2 separate regions of the Homo sapiens genome follow, and region 2 is linked to region 1. The links are contacts of gene promoters, found by promoter capture Hi-C in blood cells and fetal thymus (Javierre and others, 2016). All regions are on one chromosome and are shown on one strand. The core of a region is centred on a gene start or on the middle of the fragment in contact, and the rest is flanking DNA. Distances in the headings are between cores, read along the strand shown.

Evidence for each region. Contacts are between HindIII fragments. The CHiCAGO score rates a contact against its expected background, and 5 or more counts as called.
Region 2: a fragment that was not itself captured here is called in contact with the fragment with the promoter of CBX2 in region 1 in 2 of 17 cell types (naive B cells and total B cells); the score reaches 6.4 in naive B cells.

The regions. Positions count from the first base shown.
Region 1 is chr17:79,775,366-79,780,058 of GRCh38, reverse strand. It overlaps CBX2 (chromobox 2), which reads right to left and starts at 1,911. Exons shown (of 5, transcript NM_005189.3): 1 at 1,752-1,911; 2 at 1,632-1,675; 3 at 632-697. The coding sequence starts at 1,823. RefSeq lists an enhancer at 658-1,251 and silencers at 1,647-1,716, 1,727-2,106. The HindIII fragment of the contact is 13,003 bases long and covers 1-4,693 here.
Region 2 is chr17:81,336,339-81,340,562 of GRCh38, reverse strand. RENO1 (regulator of early neurogenesis 1) reads left to right here. Exons shown (of 2, transcript NR_186479.1): 2 at 1,250-1,380. Among named protein-coding and RNA genes, the nearest start is that of RENO1, 7.5 kb to the left of the region's middle. RefSeq lists an enhancer at 371-1,319. The HindIII fragment of the contact is 5,737 bases long and covers 1-4,224 here.

The DNA.
Region 1 (4,693 bases), core at 662-3,161:
TATCTCTTAACCTAAACTTCCTACCTAAAAATAGAAATGACATCTAGAATTACAGAAACAAGTCTGGCCCAATCCGGCCTCATGGTGCTACTTGGTACTGTATGCTGCAGGCCAGAGCAAAATAAATGTTTCTTTCTTGAGAGAGACATCACAATAGGCACAACTGCGTGCTGTGTGTTCCAGCTCCCTCTCTGAGCCTTCTTGCCTGATGGCACACGCGTGCAGGGCTGGAAGGGCAGACCTGCGTCACTGTGGCAAACCTGCTCTCCTGGTTTTCTGTTAGCGCCATGTGCAAATTACTCAGCAGAAAAGGCCAAGAGAAGCTATAACATCTTTATCTGAAGCAACTGAAAAAGTTGGTTTTTGCAAGTATGGCTGTCGGAAACACCAAAGCAGCACTTACTTAGGTTCTTCTCAGGGATGGATACAGGCTGGCTAGGAGAAGGTGGGAGAGGGGCTGGCTGGGGACTTTTACAGCCAGCCACAGAGATGGCCCTGGACACAATCTTGCTAAGGGACCTCAGACCACAGCCCCAGCTCCAGCCTCCCGGCAGGCGAGCAGCGCCCAGCACGACTCCAACCAGCCACCGTCCCTCCCCCACACCCTCCCCAGTGCTGTCAGCGTCCTCACTTCTTCTGGAAGGCCAGGAGCAGCCTCGGGTCCAGGATGTTCTCCTCCGGCTCCCAGCTGTTATGTCTGCAAAGCAGAGGACAGGGCAGCATTAGACGCCAGGCTGATGATCACCGCTTTGCAAGGCAGCCCGAGGGGGCTCGCCCTCACCGCTCCTCGACTTGGGCCGATGGCAGTGGCACCGTAGCACCATGGCACTTCTCAAAGTCCAAACCCAGGTTTTGGAGGCTGGCCACCCCCCACCAAGCCAGCACTCTAACCTCAGACCCAAAGGGAAACTGCCGCTCCAACCCCCCAATTAAAACAAGGCCACAAGAGGACTCCCACAGTCTCTGCCTGGGAGAAAAACAAACCCCCATAAAACGCAAAGTTGCAGAGAGGGATTCCCCCAAACCCTGGCCCGGAGCCAGAGGAGGAAGGGAAGGCAGGTCCAGCATGCAGGGAGGGGCACAGGCGCCCAGCCCGAGATCCAGAACAATGTGGCGCGCGGGCCGGGGCACCTCGAGGGGTAGCGAAGAAAGAGCGGGGTCCGGGAAGACGCAGAAACGGGGCCGCGGGAGCAGCTGTGCAGAGAGCCCCTTCCGGGGATGCCAAACACCCTCCCTTCCATTAAAAGAAAGAAAAAAAAAAAGAAACTCTACATCCATCAATAGCAAGCTCAGGTTACAGCGGGGAGAATCTGGCCAAGAGGAGGGGGGCTTGCATCCCGCGCCTCCCTCCCGGCCGGGACGGGGGTTGGGGGGAGCGCGGCGCGGCAGCCGAGGAGGTTCTGGCGCGGGGGGCCGCCCAGCTCTGCACCCGCGGGCGTGTAAACAAAGGGCAACCTCGGGCCGGGCGGCCCCCGCCCCCCTCAGAGCCGGAGGAGCCCGCGGGGACCCCGCGAACTTCCCGCTCTGCCCGCGGGCGCCCCCAGGCCACCGGACGGCGCGGCCGAGGGGCTCCACGTCCCCACCCCCGGGCGAGGGGGCGGGAGGGGGGCGCGGCGTCGCGGGGGACTCACTTGGAGGACCAGCCGCGCCACTTGACCAGGTACTCCAGCTTGCCCTGCGGGGAGAGAAGAGGGGCCGTGAGCCAGACGGACAGCGGGCGGCGGGCGGGGGGCCCGGCGGGCCGCACGCACCTTGCGGAGCCGCTTGCTCAGGATGCACTCGGCGGCGAAGACCTGCTCGCCCACGCTGCTCAGCTCCTCCATGCTGCCCGGCAGCCAGCCCGACCGCGGCGCCCGCCGCCAGTCACCCGCCCGGACCGCCGCGCGCCCCGCCGGCAGCACACAAAGCACCGCCCCCGCCCGGCGCCGGCCCGCCCCGCGCACGCGCACCGCCGCTCCGCGCCCGCGCCCCGGCCCGCCGCCCGCCCCCGCGCGCTGCCCAAATCCCGTGCGGGCCAATCAGCGAGGGGGGGCGGGTGCGGGGCGGGGCGGGGCGCGCATTGTCCGCGGCGGGCTGGGCCTCGCGCTCCGGCGGGGGGTCCCGCGCGGGGCCCCGGGCGGGGGCGGGGGCGGGGGTGGGGGCGCGGGCGGGCCCCTGGCTGGGGGAGGAGGTGCCTAGGGACTTCGGGCCTGGGGCGCCCACCGAGTCCCGCGTGATTCCCGGGGCGCGCCCGCCCTTGCTCCCAACTCCGTTTTCCGGGCAAAAAGCCATTGTTCTGGCCCGAAGGGAGGGAAGCGGGACGGGGCGCGGCGGCTGCTTCCTGCCCCCGCCTTCGAGGGGCGCTGCTCCGGGGCACGCGGGGCCCCACCCTTCCCCCGGCTTCTTGAACTGGCTTTTCCTCGGCAGCGGGGGAGTCGCTCTGTTTTGGACGAGAGCAAAACGGGTCGGGGGCTGGGGAAGGAAAGGAAGACGAAGTCCGGGGGAGGGGCCCACAAACCCCAGCAGCCGAGGCTTTTTCCCCCAAAGGCGAGAGAGGAAAATGCTTTAACTTAAACCACCAAGCACTCTGAGAAAGAAGTAATACGAACTGCCCGGAGTTCTTATTAAACAGCTATGAAAAGTGGATCCAGCCCCCGAGTTTTAGGGCACGTGTAGGGAGAAAACCAGCTGCACCTTTTCTGAATTTGTTCCCCGATTTTGATGAAATGGAGGGGGAGGGGGCGGTTTGCAAGGCTGTTCCTAACTTCGGACTAGGTCAGTAGTGGCCCGCCAGGGCTGGGCAGCCGGCGTCCTTCGGATCAATTGTCCGCGGCAGAAAAGGGTCAGGCCATGTTATGAAAGTGGGGGTGACCCCTTGTCCTCCCTGTGATCGTCGTCAGCAGGCTACCCTTTTATTCCGGTGTTAAGATTCGAATTCCATGAAGAATCACCCTTTAAGTTATTTAGATTTTGAATCAGGACAAGTCAAACACGTAATGAAAGAGACCTGAGCCTTAGCTTCATTCGTCTCAACGCAGTCTAACTCCATGAAAATTCACTCTCTGCTTTTCTTGCTTCCTTGAACACAGCTGCAAAATTCTCTTTCTGTTGAGCAGATCCAAAAGTCGTTTCTTGTTGTAGGAGACTGTCTCAATGTAATTGTGATCATCAAAACCATATTTATAAAGGGTTCTGCAGGAGAAATGTGTTTTTTTGTTTTTACAGAAAGGCCTACTGGAGAAAATACTGAACTGTAGGAACCGATCTTTCAATTTATGGCGTGTTCTTCAGTTTCTTTGGTTAGATAGGTTACATTCATTTGATTTCCTGGAGAGTACGTGCAAATTCAGATGTTGTTTGCAAAGAGGGCAGGAGAAAGGGAAATGTCCTTGGGGGGAAGGTGTTTGTTTACTCAGGGGCAGAGGCAGTAAAGAATCCTTGTGTTGGGATAAAACTGGCCTCTGGAGTGAAGGGATCCGCTAACAGTGTCTCCGCCGGCTCCTTTTGTATCCCTGTCTTGTGCAGCTTGGCAGTAAATTGTGGAGTTGAGGGCAAAGGTGTATTTATTGTAATCCTACAAATAGCTGGATCAGTTTCACATCACGTTTCCTTGCAGAATTCATCTTGGGTCTAAGATTTTGCCCTGGAAGTTTCCAGTTTCCTCTTTGACTCATGGTATGCTGGGATACTTGCTTGATTTCTTTTTAAAGAAAAGAAGGCTTTGAAAAGGGAATGATTTCTTTGCTTAAGAAATAAATTTGCTAGAATTTGATACTAACACATTGAAAAAAATAAATCAGCGTCCAGGAAGGTTTAACATGTACATCATCTACCCAACTGCAAACAGTTTGGGTAAAATAATATTTAGATAATTCATTTGGAGAAACAAATATGACAGATTTGGCCAGAATGAAATAATCAGATACATTCTGTGAACGTGTGATCCAAAATCTGTGGCACGTTCCCTAAAAACAAAGCTGGGAATAGGCAGAAGGGAAGAATAACCCCCAGCTAATCCAACTGTGTAAAACAAGCGGACGTCTTCCGTTTTGACTGTCACATTTTAAGAATTATTAAGACAAGTTAAAACTAATTATTGTATTATTCATTCGACAGATAGTTAGTATGTACTATCATGTGGGCACTACTAGATATCCAGTAGTATAAGACCGTAGCAGCAGCTCCATCTGTGGGTGATGGAAGTGGATGGACAGAGCCTCCCTCCACTGCGTCCAGTGTGGTGGCCGTTAGGCACCTGGGACTGCTGAGCACTGGCAGTGTGGCTAGTGCCACTGAAGGCTCGAATTTTAAATTGTATTTCACTTTAATTCATTTCAGTGGGAGTAGCCACATGTAGCTGGTGGTCACTGTACTGGACACTTTGCAGGTCCACAGGAATGAGAGGGATCTGCTTTAAACATATTTTAAATGAAAGTAATACGGTTACATAAATTAATCCTGGAATATGAATAGTTTACCTACACTCACAGTTATGCTTAATTATATACAAGAATGTTTAAAACACATACAAAAAAGATATTAAAAATCCAGGCACAGAGGAAGACATTCAGGGAGTACAGACTTTGTATAGTACTGATTTCCTTTCTACGCAAGTGATAAGGACAAGTATTAACTTATTCGTGTCTGAAATGCTACTAAGAAAGCATAAGTATTTTCACGCTATGCTTGTGGATCGAAAATTACAGATGCCAAA
Region 2 (4,224 bases), core at 1,427-3,926, 1.6 Mb before region 1:
TGGACAATATGGTGAAACCCCATCTCTACTAAAAATATAAAAATTAAGGGCCGGGCGCGGTGGCTCACGCCTGTAATCCCAGCACTTTGGGAAGCCGAGGCGGGCGGATCACGAGGTCAGGAGATGGAGACCATCCTGGCTAACACGGTAAAACCCCGTCTCTACTAAAAATACAAAAAATTAGCCGGGAGTGGTGGCGGGCGCCTGCAGTCCCAGCTGCTGGGGAGGCTGAGGCAAGAGAATGACTTGAACCGGGGAGGCGGAGGTTGCAGTGAGCCGAGATCACACTACTGCACTCAAGCCTGGGCGACAAAGTGAGACTCCATCTGAAAAAAAAAAAAAAAGACACCACTGCCCAGCCGTACTTGGAAGACATGTCTCCTCCCCAGGAATCCTGCTGTGTTTGCTTTTGGGGTCAGTGCTAGTCCAGAAGCAGTTAAAGATTAACCGGCCTGGGCCCTGGGGTAGAAGAGGAGGCTGAGGAGGGGGAGGGGAGGGGAAGGGGCTGCAGCACAAGTGGTGCCTGATTCCTGGGCCATTCCCTGGCAGCCAAGTGGCTGCTGGGCTCTGCACACAGCCCATCCCCCCCAGTGCTGCTGCCCGCGTTCCAGCTTGCCCCCACCTGCCAGGCTGTGCAGTGGGTTCAGGTGGGAAGCAGTTGCTGGGCCCACCTGTCTGGCAAGGGCAGTTGGGGAGCCCTGGCTGCTTAGCACAGGGGTGACCCCAGCTTCTGGCTCACACATCCCTGCAGACTGTGGGTGCTTAGTGTGGAAAGAGGAAGGACCTCTGCCCTCCTGGCCCTTCCTCCAGTGGGACGAGAAGCCCAGGAAAGAGGCTGAACCCAGGAAGGGCTCTGGGCAGCCTGGCCGCTGGTCTCGCAGTGTGTGGCTGGTCTTGGCCTCCTGTTCTGCTTCCCTGTCACGGGGGTCCAGGGTGTGTGTGTGTGTGTGTGTGTGTGTGCACCATACAGCCAATCCTGCGCCTGCATCTCCTTCTCCTGCATGGGCCCTCCTTGATCAGGAAGGGGAGGCAGGAGGATCTCAGCCCCCACCTCATTCTACCCCAGTGGGAGTGGCCTCTTCATGTCCAGTTGGTCCCAGGATCCCCTAACCCATCATCATCCTGGGAGGAAGGCAGTGGCTCCTCCCAGCAGAGAGCTCCAGGACCCGCCCTGCCCTGTGGGCGGCAGGGCCCTCCTCCTAAGCCCCTCTTCCTGCCCATAAATGTATTTACACTTGTATTACCCCAGGTACGTGGCTGTGACAATGGCATCCCCAGCCTGCATGGAGGACAGGAATTGAACTTTAGTCTCCAGGCAATGAAGGTGCAGGGACTACACTTTATTAATGGTTGTTATGTAATAAAAAACGATAAAATGGCCCCTATTTGTAATTTTTAAATGCAATTTGTTTTAATTTATGTTTCTGAGTACTTCTGGGGCTTGATGGGGGCTGTTGGGACATTGCTGGAGGGGCTGGGCCACAGCGCCTCCATTAGGAGGCACCGGAGATGAGATAAGCCTGGGGTGGCGGGAAGTGCCGGGGACATGGAGGGCACAGCCATGGCCTTACTCTGGCAGGAGACGAATGTTCTGGCTGCCTTTTAAAAAGCCATGGCCTTGCCCTTCTGTCTCTGGCCACTACAGAGTGGGCCTGGGGAGACATTCCTGAACCAGACATCCGGAAGCCTGCTGGGCAGGACCATTTCCCAGGGATGCTGCGACCTTGGGTACGGTGGCTCCCCTCACTCCCCACACCCCCACAGGCATCTGGGCAGGTCCCTTGGGTCCAAAAGCAGCTGGCCCAGTGCCTCTGGCCCCCTCATCAGGAGCCCTGCCTTCGATCTGGCCACAGAGGAAGCAGCCTCGTTGAGTGGGGATTGGTTATTTCTTCTAGCCTTGGGAGGGTCCAGTGTCCCTTCTGGCGCTATCTGCCCAGCCAGGGCCCCGTAGTCAGTGCCAAGGCCTGAGGGCCCAGAAGCCTCTCCAGGTGGGTCTCCTTGGCTTCCTTCTGCACCTGGCATCTGCCTCCCTGAGGCTGCACACCCACTGTGCAGAGGCTGCTTGGCTGGGAAGGGGCGCCATCCTGCTGCCCCCTCCCCAACCCACACACAGACCTCAGAGCAAGGCAGGAGCCGAGATTGTGACAGCAACATTTCACCGCCAGTGACTGAGCCAAAGCAAACCGCATCAGATGCATGGTCAGAGAGGGGGAAGAGAGGGGGAAGGCCTTCTGGGGGAGTGTGGAGCCCAGCATCGGGGGTGGGGGGGGCCTGGCTTTGCACAAAAGAAGGGGCCGGGCCTGGTGGCTCATGCCTGTAATCCCAGCACTTTGGGAGGCCAAGGATCGAGGATCACTTGAGTTCCAGAGTTTGAGACCAGCCTGGGCAACATAGGGAGACCCTCATCTCTACAAAAAATAAAATAAAATTAGCTGGGCTTGGTGGCACATGCCTGTGGTCTCAGCTACTCAGGAGGCTGAGGCAGGAGGATTGCTTGAGCCCAGGAAGTTGAGGCTGCAGTGAGCCGTGATCATGCCACTGCACTCCAGCCTGGGAGACAGAGCAAGAACTTGTCGCAAAAATAAAAACAAAAAAACAAAACAAACAAACAAACAGAAGAAAGTGAGAAGGACCAGAGCTGGGGACTGTTGGATGGGAAGATGCCCAGCCGCGGTGGTCCCAGGCTCTGCCCGCTGCCCTCAGCCCCTTTTATTTCAGACCCATCAATAGCCTGTGTGTTCCGCGTGCAGATGTGGACACTGTCAGAGCCAGGGCCCCCAGGCGCCCCTGCATCCCCCGCCCAGACCTCCCGAGTTTCAACCAGATGCGGTGCAGCCCTGCGTGGGGCCACCCTTGGTATGGTGGGCGGGGCCGCTGCAGGGTACCTCCTCGTTCCACTTCAGGCCACTCCCAGCCAGTGGCCCCGGCTCTGTCCGAGGCCACCCCACCCCCACTCCTGAGGATGGAGTCTGCACCTGCTGCCCCTCCCACCAAGGACCGTCCCAGTGCCTCTCCCTCCCTTTGCCTTTTATTTTGGGAGCCTCAGCTTGCCAAGTTAATTGGCAAACTTTCCCAGAAGTAAACTTGAGGGATAGAAATTAATAATTTTCCCGGAGTTGCGCTCATTGCTAATCAGGCCAGCTGGGAGGAGGGGGCCTGGGTGCATCAGAGGACCCCTGCAAAGCCATTAGCATGAACAAGATCTAAGGGTGAGGGGTCCCCCTTGCAATTCAGCAGCTCTGCAGCCCCAGTGCCCAGGTGCAGGAGCACGGGGGGCACAGGGTGAAGGCAAGGGCACCTTGGAAGGATTCCAGCCATTCTCACACCCACACCCGGGCCTAGGCAAGCAGTTCCCCTCTTGCCGTGTGGCCTGGGCTGGATGGGGTCCCCAGGGTCTCTCACTGACCCTGGAAAGGCCCACTTGAGTGAGACAGGGAAGGGTGTGAGCCCTGACTGAAGCTCAGGCCGGGCGGGGGATGCGCCCTTGGGGAAGGAGCCTGAAAGGAGAGCCAGGAGTCCAGAGCAGGGCCCAGCTGGGACCCAGGCAACCCGCCCCGACTTTGGAGCCCTCCTTTTGGAGACAAGTGCCAGCCCACCAAAGGGTGCACAGTGTTGGGGACCCTGTCCCCAGGACTCCCTTGTCCTATAAGGAAGTGTAGCCCCAAATCCCCTACATTCCAGAACTCTGGCCTTCTTGGGCCTTGTGTCAGGCTGGTGGGAAATGGGTGGAGCTTAGAGGCCTCTGCTCAGGTCTCTGCACCCCCAGAGCCATGGCTGGGCCCCTGGCAGAACCTCGCCACCGTCCATTGCTTTGTCAGCTCCTTGGCTGGGCCTTCAGAGCCTGTGGAAAAAAGCATCAGTATGTGGTCCTCAGAGGACCTCGGTGAAAATGCAGATGCCAGGGCCCAGCCCTGGAGAGTAGAGTCGACGTGTCCACCAGGACCCCATGTGATCTAACCCAGGCAGTCCAATGACCGTGCCAGGAGGCCTGGGCTGGGCTACAGGGTCAGCTCTGGAGGGTGGGTCTCTTCTCTCATGAAGCGTTTATTGAATGGAAGGACAGATGGGTGGATGGATAGGATGGATGGGGTGTGGATGGGTGGATAGGTGGATGGGTGGATGGGTGGATGGTTGGATGGGTGGATGGGTGGGTGGGGGGTGGATAGATGGGTGGGTTGGGGAGTGGATAGATGGGTGGGTTGGGGGGTGGATAGATGGGTGGGT